Regions from separate parts of the Homo sapiens genome. Here all the other regions are linked to region 2. Evidence: promoter capture Hi-C in human tissues and cell types (Jung and others, 2019). All regions are on one chromosome and are shown on one strand. Each heading gives the region's core, a stretch centred on a gene start or on the middle of the fragment in contact. The rest is flanking DNA. Distances are from core to core; before and after follow the strand shown.

Region 1 (2,938 bases), core at 406-2,905, 610 kb after region 2:
CTGTATTCCAAACTCACCCCACAATAAAATAAATTCCAGACGTATCCAACATTTTACAAGTACCACAGAAAAACAAGAGTTTATTTTAAAAATAATCTTGGAGTGGGGAAAGCCCTTTAAAACACAGCACAAAGCCCAAAATGCCTTAAGGCAAAATATTTGACTCCTAAAAATTTTAAATTTTCTATTTTGAAAAAGCCCAAACCAGAATCAAACACCATAATCAGAGTCAAAAGACAAATTGAGAAGCATGTTTTCAACATACATGGAAAAAAATATGAGCTGGCAAATCACAAAGAAATACAAATGGCGAAAACACAAATGAAGGGATTTCAATCTCACCAATAAACGCAAAACGTCGACCTGGCAGGAATGCAGTGACCTGTCAAAGCCCACAGGACCAGAGTCCCGTCCAGGGCGGGAATGTCAATGGCAATCTCCCACCCTTACCCACTTCGTAGAGACCACCGGACAGAGAAACCTATGTCCAGAAGACAAGTTACGAACTGAAAAATCTGCGAGTACCCACCCGGCGGAGGACGAGTGGAGCGCCCCCTGCCGCCCCTGGTGTTAGTCAAACGACACCAGCTTCCCTTTGATGACAGAAAAAAGGGTGTGCGTGCGTGCCTAAAGCTCTAACGGCATTCAAAAATTCTGAAACTGTTCACAGCTCCTGCCTCTTCATACACTGGCAGAGTGTCGGGGGGGATGACTTTTATATATTTCTGACATGCCTGCATTAGAAGAAGTATTGCATATTATTTTCAATTTTAAAATTAAGCCAATAAACAACAAGGAAAATATTTGCTGTGTTGCAAAGAGTTGGGCTCATTCATTAAAATAGGGCTCTAACACAGTAACAGAAAAGACAGCATCGACAGCAAAATGGGGAGAGGATAAGACACCCGGCAAGTAGCACACTCGACCAACTGCTGAAACGAAAGCAGCTCGTTTTCGTCTTGACGCGGGAAGACTTTTTATAGCTAAGTAAAGTGGCGCTCCCGGTGCGCCGCCGGGGTCTTCATGGGGCTCCTCAGGATGTGCATCAAACAGAAAAAACCTCCATTTTTATATTTTGGGGAAGCTCCCCACCCCTTTCCGGGCCCATCCCAGGGGACGCGAGACCCCGAGGAGCGCGGCAAGAAGAGCGGCCCGGGGGTCCGGACTGCGCCCCTAGGACTCCGGCCATCCTGGCCCTAGGCACGGCGCCCGGTAGAAAGCGCGCGGGAGGGCACGAGGGGGAGGAAGGCCGGAGATCTGAGGAGATCCAAGGTGGGAGGGACGCCGGTCTGACGGGGCCCAAGGGGGTAGGGGCGGGGAAGGGACCGAGGCCGTCCGAGGCGGACGGGGGTGCGGGAGGGCCTGAGGGGGTCCAAGGCCGGGCGAGGGGAAGGGTGGGAACCCCGAACGGGGGAGAGGGCGCGGCCTTGGCCCTGGGGAGGAGGCCGCCGCGCGTCCGTGAGGGGAGGGGACCAGCGTAAACGCAGGAGGCAGTGCGTGCTCGCGGGGAAGAGTCCACGATTCGTGTGGAGGACGCACCGGCTCCGGTGTCCGTGATGGGAGAGGGTCCTGGCCGGCGACGACACGCGCCCCCCACTCACCGTCAGAGCCGCAGCCTCACGCGCGAAGGAACGGCATCCCGCAGCACCTTCAGACAAAGGGCTGCCCCGCCCCGTCTGCGCAGCCGCCAATCCCTGGGGGCTCCTGCCCCTCAGTTCCCGCCCCCACAGCCGAGTTCGCCAATCCTGGAGGGCAAGCATGTTTACGTCATTTGGCCCGCCTGCCCGCCCGAAGCCTTTCTCGGTGACCGACTGCAGGGAGCTCTCAGGAGCCACCGAGAGCCAGACCTCCGCGATCCCTAGAGGGGCCGAACACCTCTGGGCAATGGGCCCGGCCGGCTCCCCGGCCGCACTTCCGGGCGCGGAGGTTACAGCCCATCGCCGAGCCTTACCCGCTCGCAGTCCCGGTTCCCGAGCTCCTGCCGCCGTCGCCCTGTGGAGGACACCCCTGCCGGCCCCGCAGTCCCTCCTCGACTTGCGCTGGCTTCGGCCGTCCTGGAACTCGAGCTCGTTCCCCCCTCCGAGCCTTTTGCCCTTGCGGTTCCCGCTGCTGGGAACGACCTTGCCCTCAGCCGCCTGGCTGGTCCCTGCGCCGCTGCAGTGCGAATGTCGCCTTCTCAGGGGCCCTTTCTCTTCCTTCGTTGCAACACTGAAGTCCTCTTGTTTGATGACTTGCGTGAGGTTATTCCTCCCACTTAGGAGGCTGAGTGCTGCGAGGTCCGAGGCGCAGCCGCTCTTCGCTGTGTCCGGCCCGGCGTGCTCCCGACAGGGGGCGTCACTGAACAGCGACCGTCTCCGTCGCCCACTCGGCCCTGGTGTTTGCTTTTTGGTGTGTTTACACCGCGCACCTGGGGGAGAGGGGCGGGCCTTCACGAGGGCGCGGGCCACACCCGTGTGGAGGCTTCGGGCACAGCCCAGGACCTGACAGCCGCGGCAGGGAGGGTGGGGCTGGTTTGGAGCGGTGTCAGGGGACGGGAAGGCTGACGCCTAGTCCACCTTCTGCTGGCCCCACTCCCGAAGGTCAGGTCCGCGTCGTCCATTGGGCGCGTGGGCGGGCCCAGACTCTCAAGAGGCTTCCCCACAGGGCGGGGCTGGGGGCTGCGTGGGGGCGGCGGGGAAGGCTTAAGGTTAGGGGGTAGGCTTGAAGCGAGTGCCCGGCCCGTGCTGTTGGGAGCGGAGGCCGGGAGGATGTGGCGATAATTCCGTACTTGCCGCGCACCAGGCAGACGCGAAGTCTGTGCTACGCTTCAGCGAACTTAGCAGCCCTTGCGGGCAGGGGTTCGCACTTCACGGAGCTACCATCCACCACGCGCGTTTCGAGCAATGGGCCCGTTGCCTGGCGCACTAGAAGCCAAAACGGTGGCACCAGTTTTTGAGAA
Region 2 (2,801 bases), core at 288-2,787:
ATAGAGACTCTAACCGCAACCACGCACCAACCCACCCACTCCTCTCTCTGAGCAGGACCACAGCTGCCTCTGAGCAGAGCCCTGCTGGCTGCGTGACACCGGCACACACAGTGTTCGGGTCCTTCACTGGCCTTAAAGGGTGGAACAAGAACTTAGACTCTTAGGAAGCAGTTGAAGGCCAGGCACAGTGGCTCACTCCTGTAATCCCAACACTTTGGGAGGCTGAGGCGGGTGGATCACCTGAGGTCAGGAGTTCAAGACCAGCCTGGCCAACATGGTGAAACCATCTCTACTAAAAATACAAAAATTAGCTGGTGGTGGCGGGCACCTCTAATCCCAGCTACTCAGGAGGCTGAGTTAGCCAGGAGGTGGAAGCTGCAGTGAGCCAAGACTGCACCACTGCACTCTAGCCTGGGCAACAGAGCCAGGCTCTGTCTCAAAAAAAAAAAAAAGAAAAAAGAAAGAAAAGGAAAAGAAAAGAAAAAGGAAGCAGTTGAATGCAGAATTCTAGATTTTACTGTTTTCCTAATAGTTTACAAGTCTCACTTAAGGTACGACCTGCATGTATTAGCTATTGCATACCGAGTGTTCACACAATGCCTCTCTCACACAGAGTCATGATGTGTCTTGGTATTCAGTCGGCTACACAATCACAATAACTAGTGGAAATGGCATCCGTGGCCTGGGCGCAAACAACTGGCTCCTGAGGACCGTTTAGTCCAAGGGTGGAAGTCGCAGAACCTGGCGCCTAGAGTGGCCTGCGGGCCATTCAGCCCATGGGAGCCAGGATGAGTTGAATTCGCTTCACAAAGCAATGGGGCAGTTTCAACAACCCAGCGCGGCCGCGGCCGAGGGGGCTGTGAGGGGCTGGCTGTCCATCCCCTCCACCACCCAATTTGATGATCCCCACAACCAAGACAGGGCTGAGCTAGCAGAGAGCAACAGTGAGTTCTAATACAGCAAATGCAGCAGACACTGGGTTCTATTCAGGTTTTCTTATTCTCATGTCTATCCCATGAGCATAAAAACGCAATTAACTAGCGTATACGTAGGTTAAGCATTTACTGGGAGCGCAAGCCGAGCCCTTTTATTGGCAGGATGCACAAATGGAACGGCTGGAGAGGCTGCTGCAAGGGGCGCCCCGTCCCCACTCCCCGCTCCCCCGTTTCTTTGCTTCCCGGACGCCGTCCTTTACCCCGCAGTCCGCTCTGCCTGAGACCCCCCGATAGAGGAGCTGCACCCACGCCCAAGACCGATTCACTGGGCGCGGGCGCCCAGGTGACAGAAGCCGGGCCCACCCGCCCCAGCGCGGCCACGTGCCCGCCGGGCCCTCTAGGGACGCGCCCCGCCGCCCCGCATCGCCACAGTCACCTCCGGCTCGGGCTCAGGCTCCAGTTCGGGCTCAGACCGCCGCTTCTCCGGCCGCACGCTCGGCGCCGCCGTGCGCCCCGCACCCCGCGAACCCGCCATGCCCCACCGCGCGCCGGCCGCCACCCGCACAGCCGCTTCCGACAGCGACCGGGCCGCGTGCGCAGGAGGACGCGCCCCGCCCAGCCCGGCCCCGATTGGCGGGTGGAGGGAAGGGGGTGGGACCAACACGCGCAGGCGCGCGGCTGGGCCGGGGACCAGGGCGGGGTCGGGGCCTGCGTGCTCGCGCCGGGGGTGACGCGGGAGGGCGGCAGCGGCGGCGGCGGGAGCGCGCCCGTTGCAAGATGGCGGCGGCCATGCTGGGCCCCGGGGCTGTGTGTGCGCAGCGGGCGGCGGCGCGGCCCGGAAGGCTGGCGCGGCGACGGCGTTAGCCCGGCCCTCGGCCCCTCTTTGCGGCCGCTCCCTCCGCCTATTCCCTCCTTGCTCGAGATGGATCTGCCCGTGGGCCCCGGCGCGGCGGGGCCCAGCAACGTCCCGGCCTTCCTGACCAAGCTGTGGACCCTCGTGAGCGACCCGGACACCGACGCGCTCATCTGCTGGAGCCCGGTGAGGGCAGCGCGCGGGCGCGGGGCCCGTGGGGACCGGGAGGGAGCAGGGCCGCGGCGGACGGCGCGGGAGGGCTGCGGGGAGGGGCCCTGCCGCACTTCAGCTTACGCGCGGTGAGCCTGCCCTGCCCCCGCCAGAGAAGGGCGGCGGGTCCCGAGCCTGCTCAGACCCAGAGCCTTAAGTTGGGAAAGCGGCTACGAGACCCACACTCGGTTCAACCCCTGCCCCAGCGAAGTTTCCCTGGGATGGGGAGAATGGGGCGTCTCTTGTATTGGGCTTCTGCTAACTGTTGGGCGGTTGCGGAAGTGTCCGCGCTTAGGGCAAGCACCCGGCTTCGCCAGCGGACGCTATGCCCCAGAGGACATCGGCGTCCCCAGGGGACAGCCTACGGGGTGCTGGGTCGGCAACTATTAGGAGAAAGTCAGGACTTGGCACGTGAAGTGGAGGGCGTTGCTGTAGTGGAACAGGAAAGGCAGTGGAAACAGTAAGACGTCATGAAGCTTCAGGTTGATCTCAAGCCCGTTTCCGAATCCCAAATCTGGGTTTCCCAAGAGGAGTTTTGTTTTTCATTCCTTATGGGGCATCTTTATTCGTGTTTCTGTCTTCAGTTGCCTGGCAGCAGGCTTGTTTACATGGTCCGACCCTGCAAGACCGGACAGCTCCGGTTTGCAGAAGTAAATCAGTGATTGTCTGGAGTTGGAGATCAGAATCTGCTGTTCACATCCCGGCTGTGACGTCGTGTCCGGTGAGGGGCAGAGCCACCGCCTGCGGCTGGCAAGTGATGACCTGAAGAAGGGCCACACTGGCCGAGTGGGGTGACTCTTGCT
Region 3 (2,960 bases), core at 235-2,734, 710 kb after region 2:
GTCTACTTGGATTCCATTCTTAAACTTTTTTTTTTTTTTTTTTTTTTTTTTGGGACAGAGTCTTGCTGCGATGCCCAGGCTGAAGTGCAATGGTGCTATCTCAGCTTGCTGCAACCTTCACCTCCTGGGTTCGGGTAGTTCTTCCGCCTCGGCCTCCAGAGTGGCTGGGAGTGCAGGTGCATGCCACCACACCTGGCTGGTTTTTGTATTTTTGGTAGAGATGGAGTTTCACCGTGTTGGCCGGGATGGTCTTGAACTCCTGACCTCAAGTGATCCACTGACCTCAGCCTCCCAAAGTGCTGGGATTACATGTGTAAGCCACTACGCCCATCCTCCATCATTAAACTTTTTAATGTGAAATTCTATCATGTACCATTAACCTAACAAGATTTTCTTTCCTATTTCTGACTGGTGCCTTTCCCCTTTTCAGGAGCAATGAAAGCTACTCTGTTAGTTATGTTCTTCTGATGTGACAAAATGTCAAGAAGATAGGAGAAGAGAATATTTTGTTTTGTTGATGCTTTTGTTCCCAAGTGTGACCCTAAACTTAAGCTTTGTAGGAGCTGATGTTCTCTCATGTCCCTTCCCTTTACTCATGCCAAAACTATCAACTAGGACATTTTGTGCTTTTGGTTTAAAAGTTAATTGATATTATACCTTGGTTTTATCCAAGAAGTAAAAGTATTTGCCTTTGACAAAAGACTGATACAAGAGCAAATAATCTTTAAAAACAGGGGTGTTATGTGCTTTCCTCCACTTTTGAGCATATTATCCAAAATGGTCTGTATAATATAAATGAGAATGATGCAGTTTAAGTAAGTATTTTTATACCATTGTCATGGACCCCTGTCATAAAGCCATTTTTCAGTTTGGGAAAGAGGCATATGGGATTTATACAGATTCACTTGTAAATGTTGCATTGGGGATTTTTGTGTAAATTTTCTCAAATAAAGGCTAGCAGAAACCAAAAAAAAAAAAAAAAAAGGGCTAAAGCGAAGAGCACATTCCAGTGAAAGGAAAGCAGGGCTCTGAAACCGAACAGATCCATATCCCAGATCTGCCACCAATAGGCTGTGTAAACTTAAGAAAAGTGACAGTATTTGTTAGCCTCAGGTTCGTTTATAAACTGTGTATCCTACCACCGATCATCAAGATGCAGAAAGATTAATTCAGGGGATAGGGAGGTACTAGGTGTGCAATGAATAATATTCTCCTTCTATAAATCAGGGAGGGTTGGAAAGGCATGGGAGGCCAAGGTGGGAGGATTCCTTGAGGCTAGGAGTTTGAGACCAACCTGGGCAACACAGAGGCTCTGTCTCTAAAAAAGTAAAATAAGACAGGCATGGTGGCCCATGCCTGTAGTCTCAGGTACTTGGGAGGCTGAGGTAGGAGGATCTCTTCAACCAAAGACGTCAAGGTTACAGTGAGCTATGGTCTCACCACTGCACTCCAGGATGGGCAACAGAGTGAGACATTGCCTATTAAAAAAAAAAATCAAGGAGGGTCCCAGTACCACCTGTCCCCCTCTCTGTGCAAACCAGACCTGCATGGTACCATGGTCAAAATGTCTGGTCTTTGGGCCCAGGGGGTGAGGAGCCTCTGAGCCCCAAGCTTGATCCTCAAGGTTAAGGAGCAGGAAGCCCAGGAGCTGAGCCCCAGGGAGGGAACTTACCTAATGAGAGTAGGTTCCCATAGGTCCCCATCATCACATCCTTGTAGAGGCCCCTCTGAGCAGGGATCAGACAGTCCCACTCCTCCTGGGAGAGGGGTACAGCCACATCCTCAAAGGAAACCACGATGTGGAATGACAAGATCTTGATGCAGCCCTCAGGTCAGGACCTGGAGGGAGAAGATATTAGGCTCAGGACTGGTAAAATCCCTCTGGGAACATGTACCTGTCTTCCCCACTAATGTGAACTCTTTGAGGCAGACACTATATTGGCTCATCTTGGTGTGCCCCAACTCTGACCTCTACTGTACCTGGTCCAGGGACAGTAAAACAGTGAGAAGTACATTTCAGGGACTTGAACTCAGGAACTGAGGACATCGGTGGAGACAGGGAGCTGTCCACCCTCTGGGACCAGCTCCTTATAGACAGACTCCTGCTGAGAAAAGGCTGAGGTCACATGGAAGAGACTCCATGAGGACCACTCACTTGGAGCCCACCAAGAAGGAGCTGCATGACAGCCATCACTAGGTCTCTGAGCTTGTCCTGAGGTGTGGGCAGAGCTGTAGGGAGAGGAGGGTGATGGAGCCTGACCAACCTTCTGCTCCCCATAGGTGCTCTGAGACTTCTAAGCCTAGACATTTTGTGGTAGCAGAGACCCAATTATGAGCTGCCTGAACACCCCAGGAAAGGTGGATGAACTAAGTAGCCAGTGGTCTCTGAGACCATATCCCCTCCCTAATTTTCTGCCATACCTCTCCATGTCTCAAGAGAGGCCTTCCTGAGGCCCCTGGGATGACAGCATCCTGAGGCCACCATGTGAAAGCCAGGACTGTGGCAGTGCACTTGGCCAGGAGAGACAATGGACTGCGTTTCCCAGGCCCACCTATGAGGTCCTGCGCAGACGGCAAACAGCTGAGAACAGCGGACCAGGCTCTGGTGCTAAGGCAGCGAATGAGCAAATGGAGAAGTTAACACATATGCATGACACACAGACACAACGCCCAGGTGGTGTCAGGTAATGACAAAGGATACAAAAAATTAATGACGCAGCACGAGGGCAGCGACTGGTGGTAAGAGATATTTTACACAGGATGGCCAGGGAAGACACCTCCGATAAAGTGACAACAAATCAGAGATCTGGATGGAGTGAGGGTAGGCACCATGTGGTTATCAGTGAGGTACATCCCAGGCAGGAGGAGGGCACAAGTGCAAAGGCTCTGAGATGCAAGCACACCTGTGTTCAAGAACGGGCAAAGAAGCCAGAGGGGCTCAAACAGACTAGGGGAGGGTA

What was found. The method cuts DNA at HindIII sites, captures the fragments that hold promoters and counts their contacts. A contact is called where the count stands out against the background at its distance.
Region 1: the fragment with the promoter of ZNF250 here is called in contact with the fragment with the promoter of BOP1 in region 2 in 1 of the 25 tissues and cell types used here (spleen).
Region 3: a contact is called between a fragment that was not itself captured here and the fragment with the promoter of BOP1 in region 2, in 1 of the 25 tissues and cell types used here (spleen).

Annotation. Positions count from the first base shown.
Region 1 is chr8:144,899,798-144,902,735 of GRCh38, forward strand. It overlaps ZNF250 (zinc finger protein 250), which reads right to left and starts at 1,656. Exons shown (of 6, transcript NM_001109689.4): 1 at 1,602-1,656. It overlaps LOC124902042, which reads left to right and starts at 1,827. Exons shown (of 1, transcript XM_047422534.1): 1 at 1,827-2,484. The coding sequence starts at 1,885. The coding sequence ends at 2,484. RefSeq lists enhancers at 1,002-1,606, 1,607-2,209, 2,210-2,813 and silencers at 1,340-1,449, 2,510-2,589. The HindIII fragment of the contact is 10,274 bases long and covers 1-2,938 here.
Region 2 is chr8:144,289,901-144,292,701 of GRCh38, forward strand. It overlaps BOP1 (BOP1 ribosomal biogenesis factor), which reads right to left and starts at 1,538. Exons shown (of 16, transcript NM_015201.5): 1 at 1,372-1,538. The coding sequence starts at 1,470. It overlaps HSF1 (heat shock transcription factor 1), which reads left to right and starts at 1,704. Exons shown (of 13, transcript NM_005526.4): 1 at 1,704-1,974. The coding sequence starts at 1,858. RefSeq lists silencers at 1,282-1,781, 1,892-2,051 and enhancers at 2,183-2,801, 2,442-2,501. The HindIII fragment of the contact is 19,250 bases long and covers 1-2,801 here.
Region 3 is chr8:144,997,931-145,000,890 of GRCh38, forward strand. It overlaps the pseudogene ZNF252P and the pseudogene TMED10P1. Among named protein-coding and RNA genes, the nearest start is that of ZNF252P-AS1, 3.4 kb to the right of the region's middle. The HindIII fragment of the contact is 5,765 bases long and covers 1-2,960 here.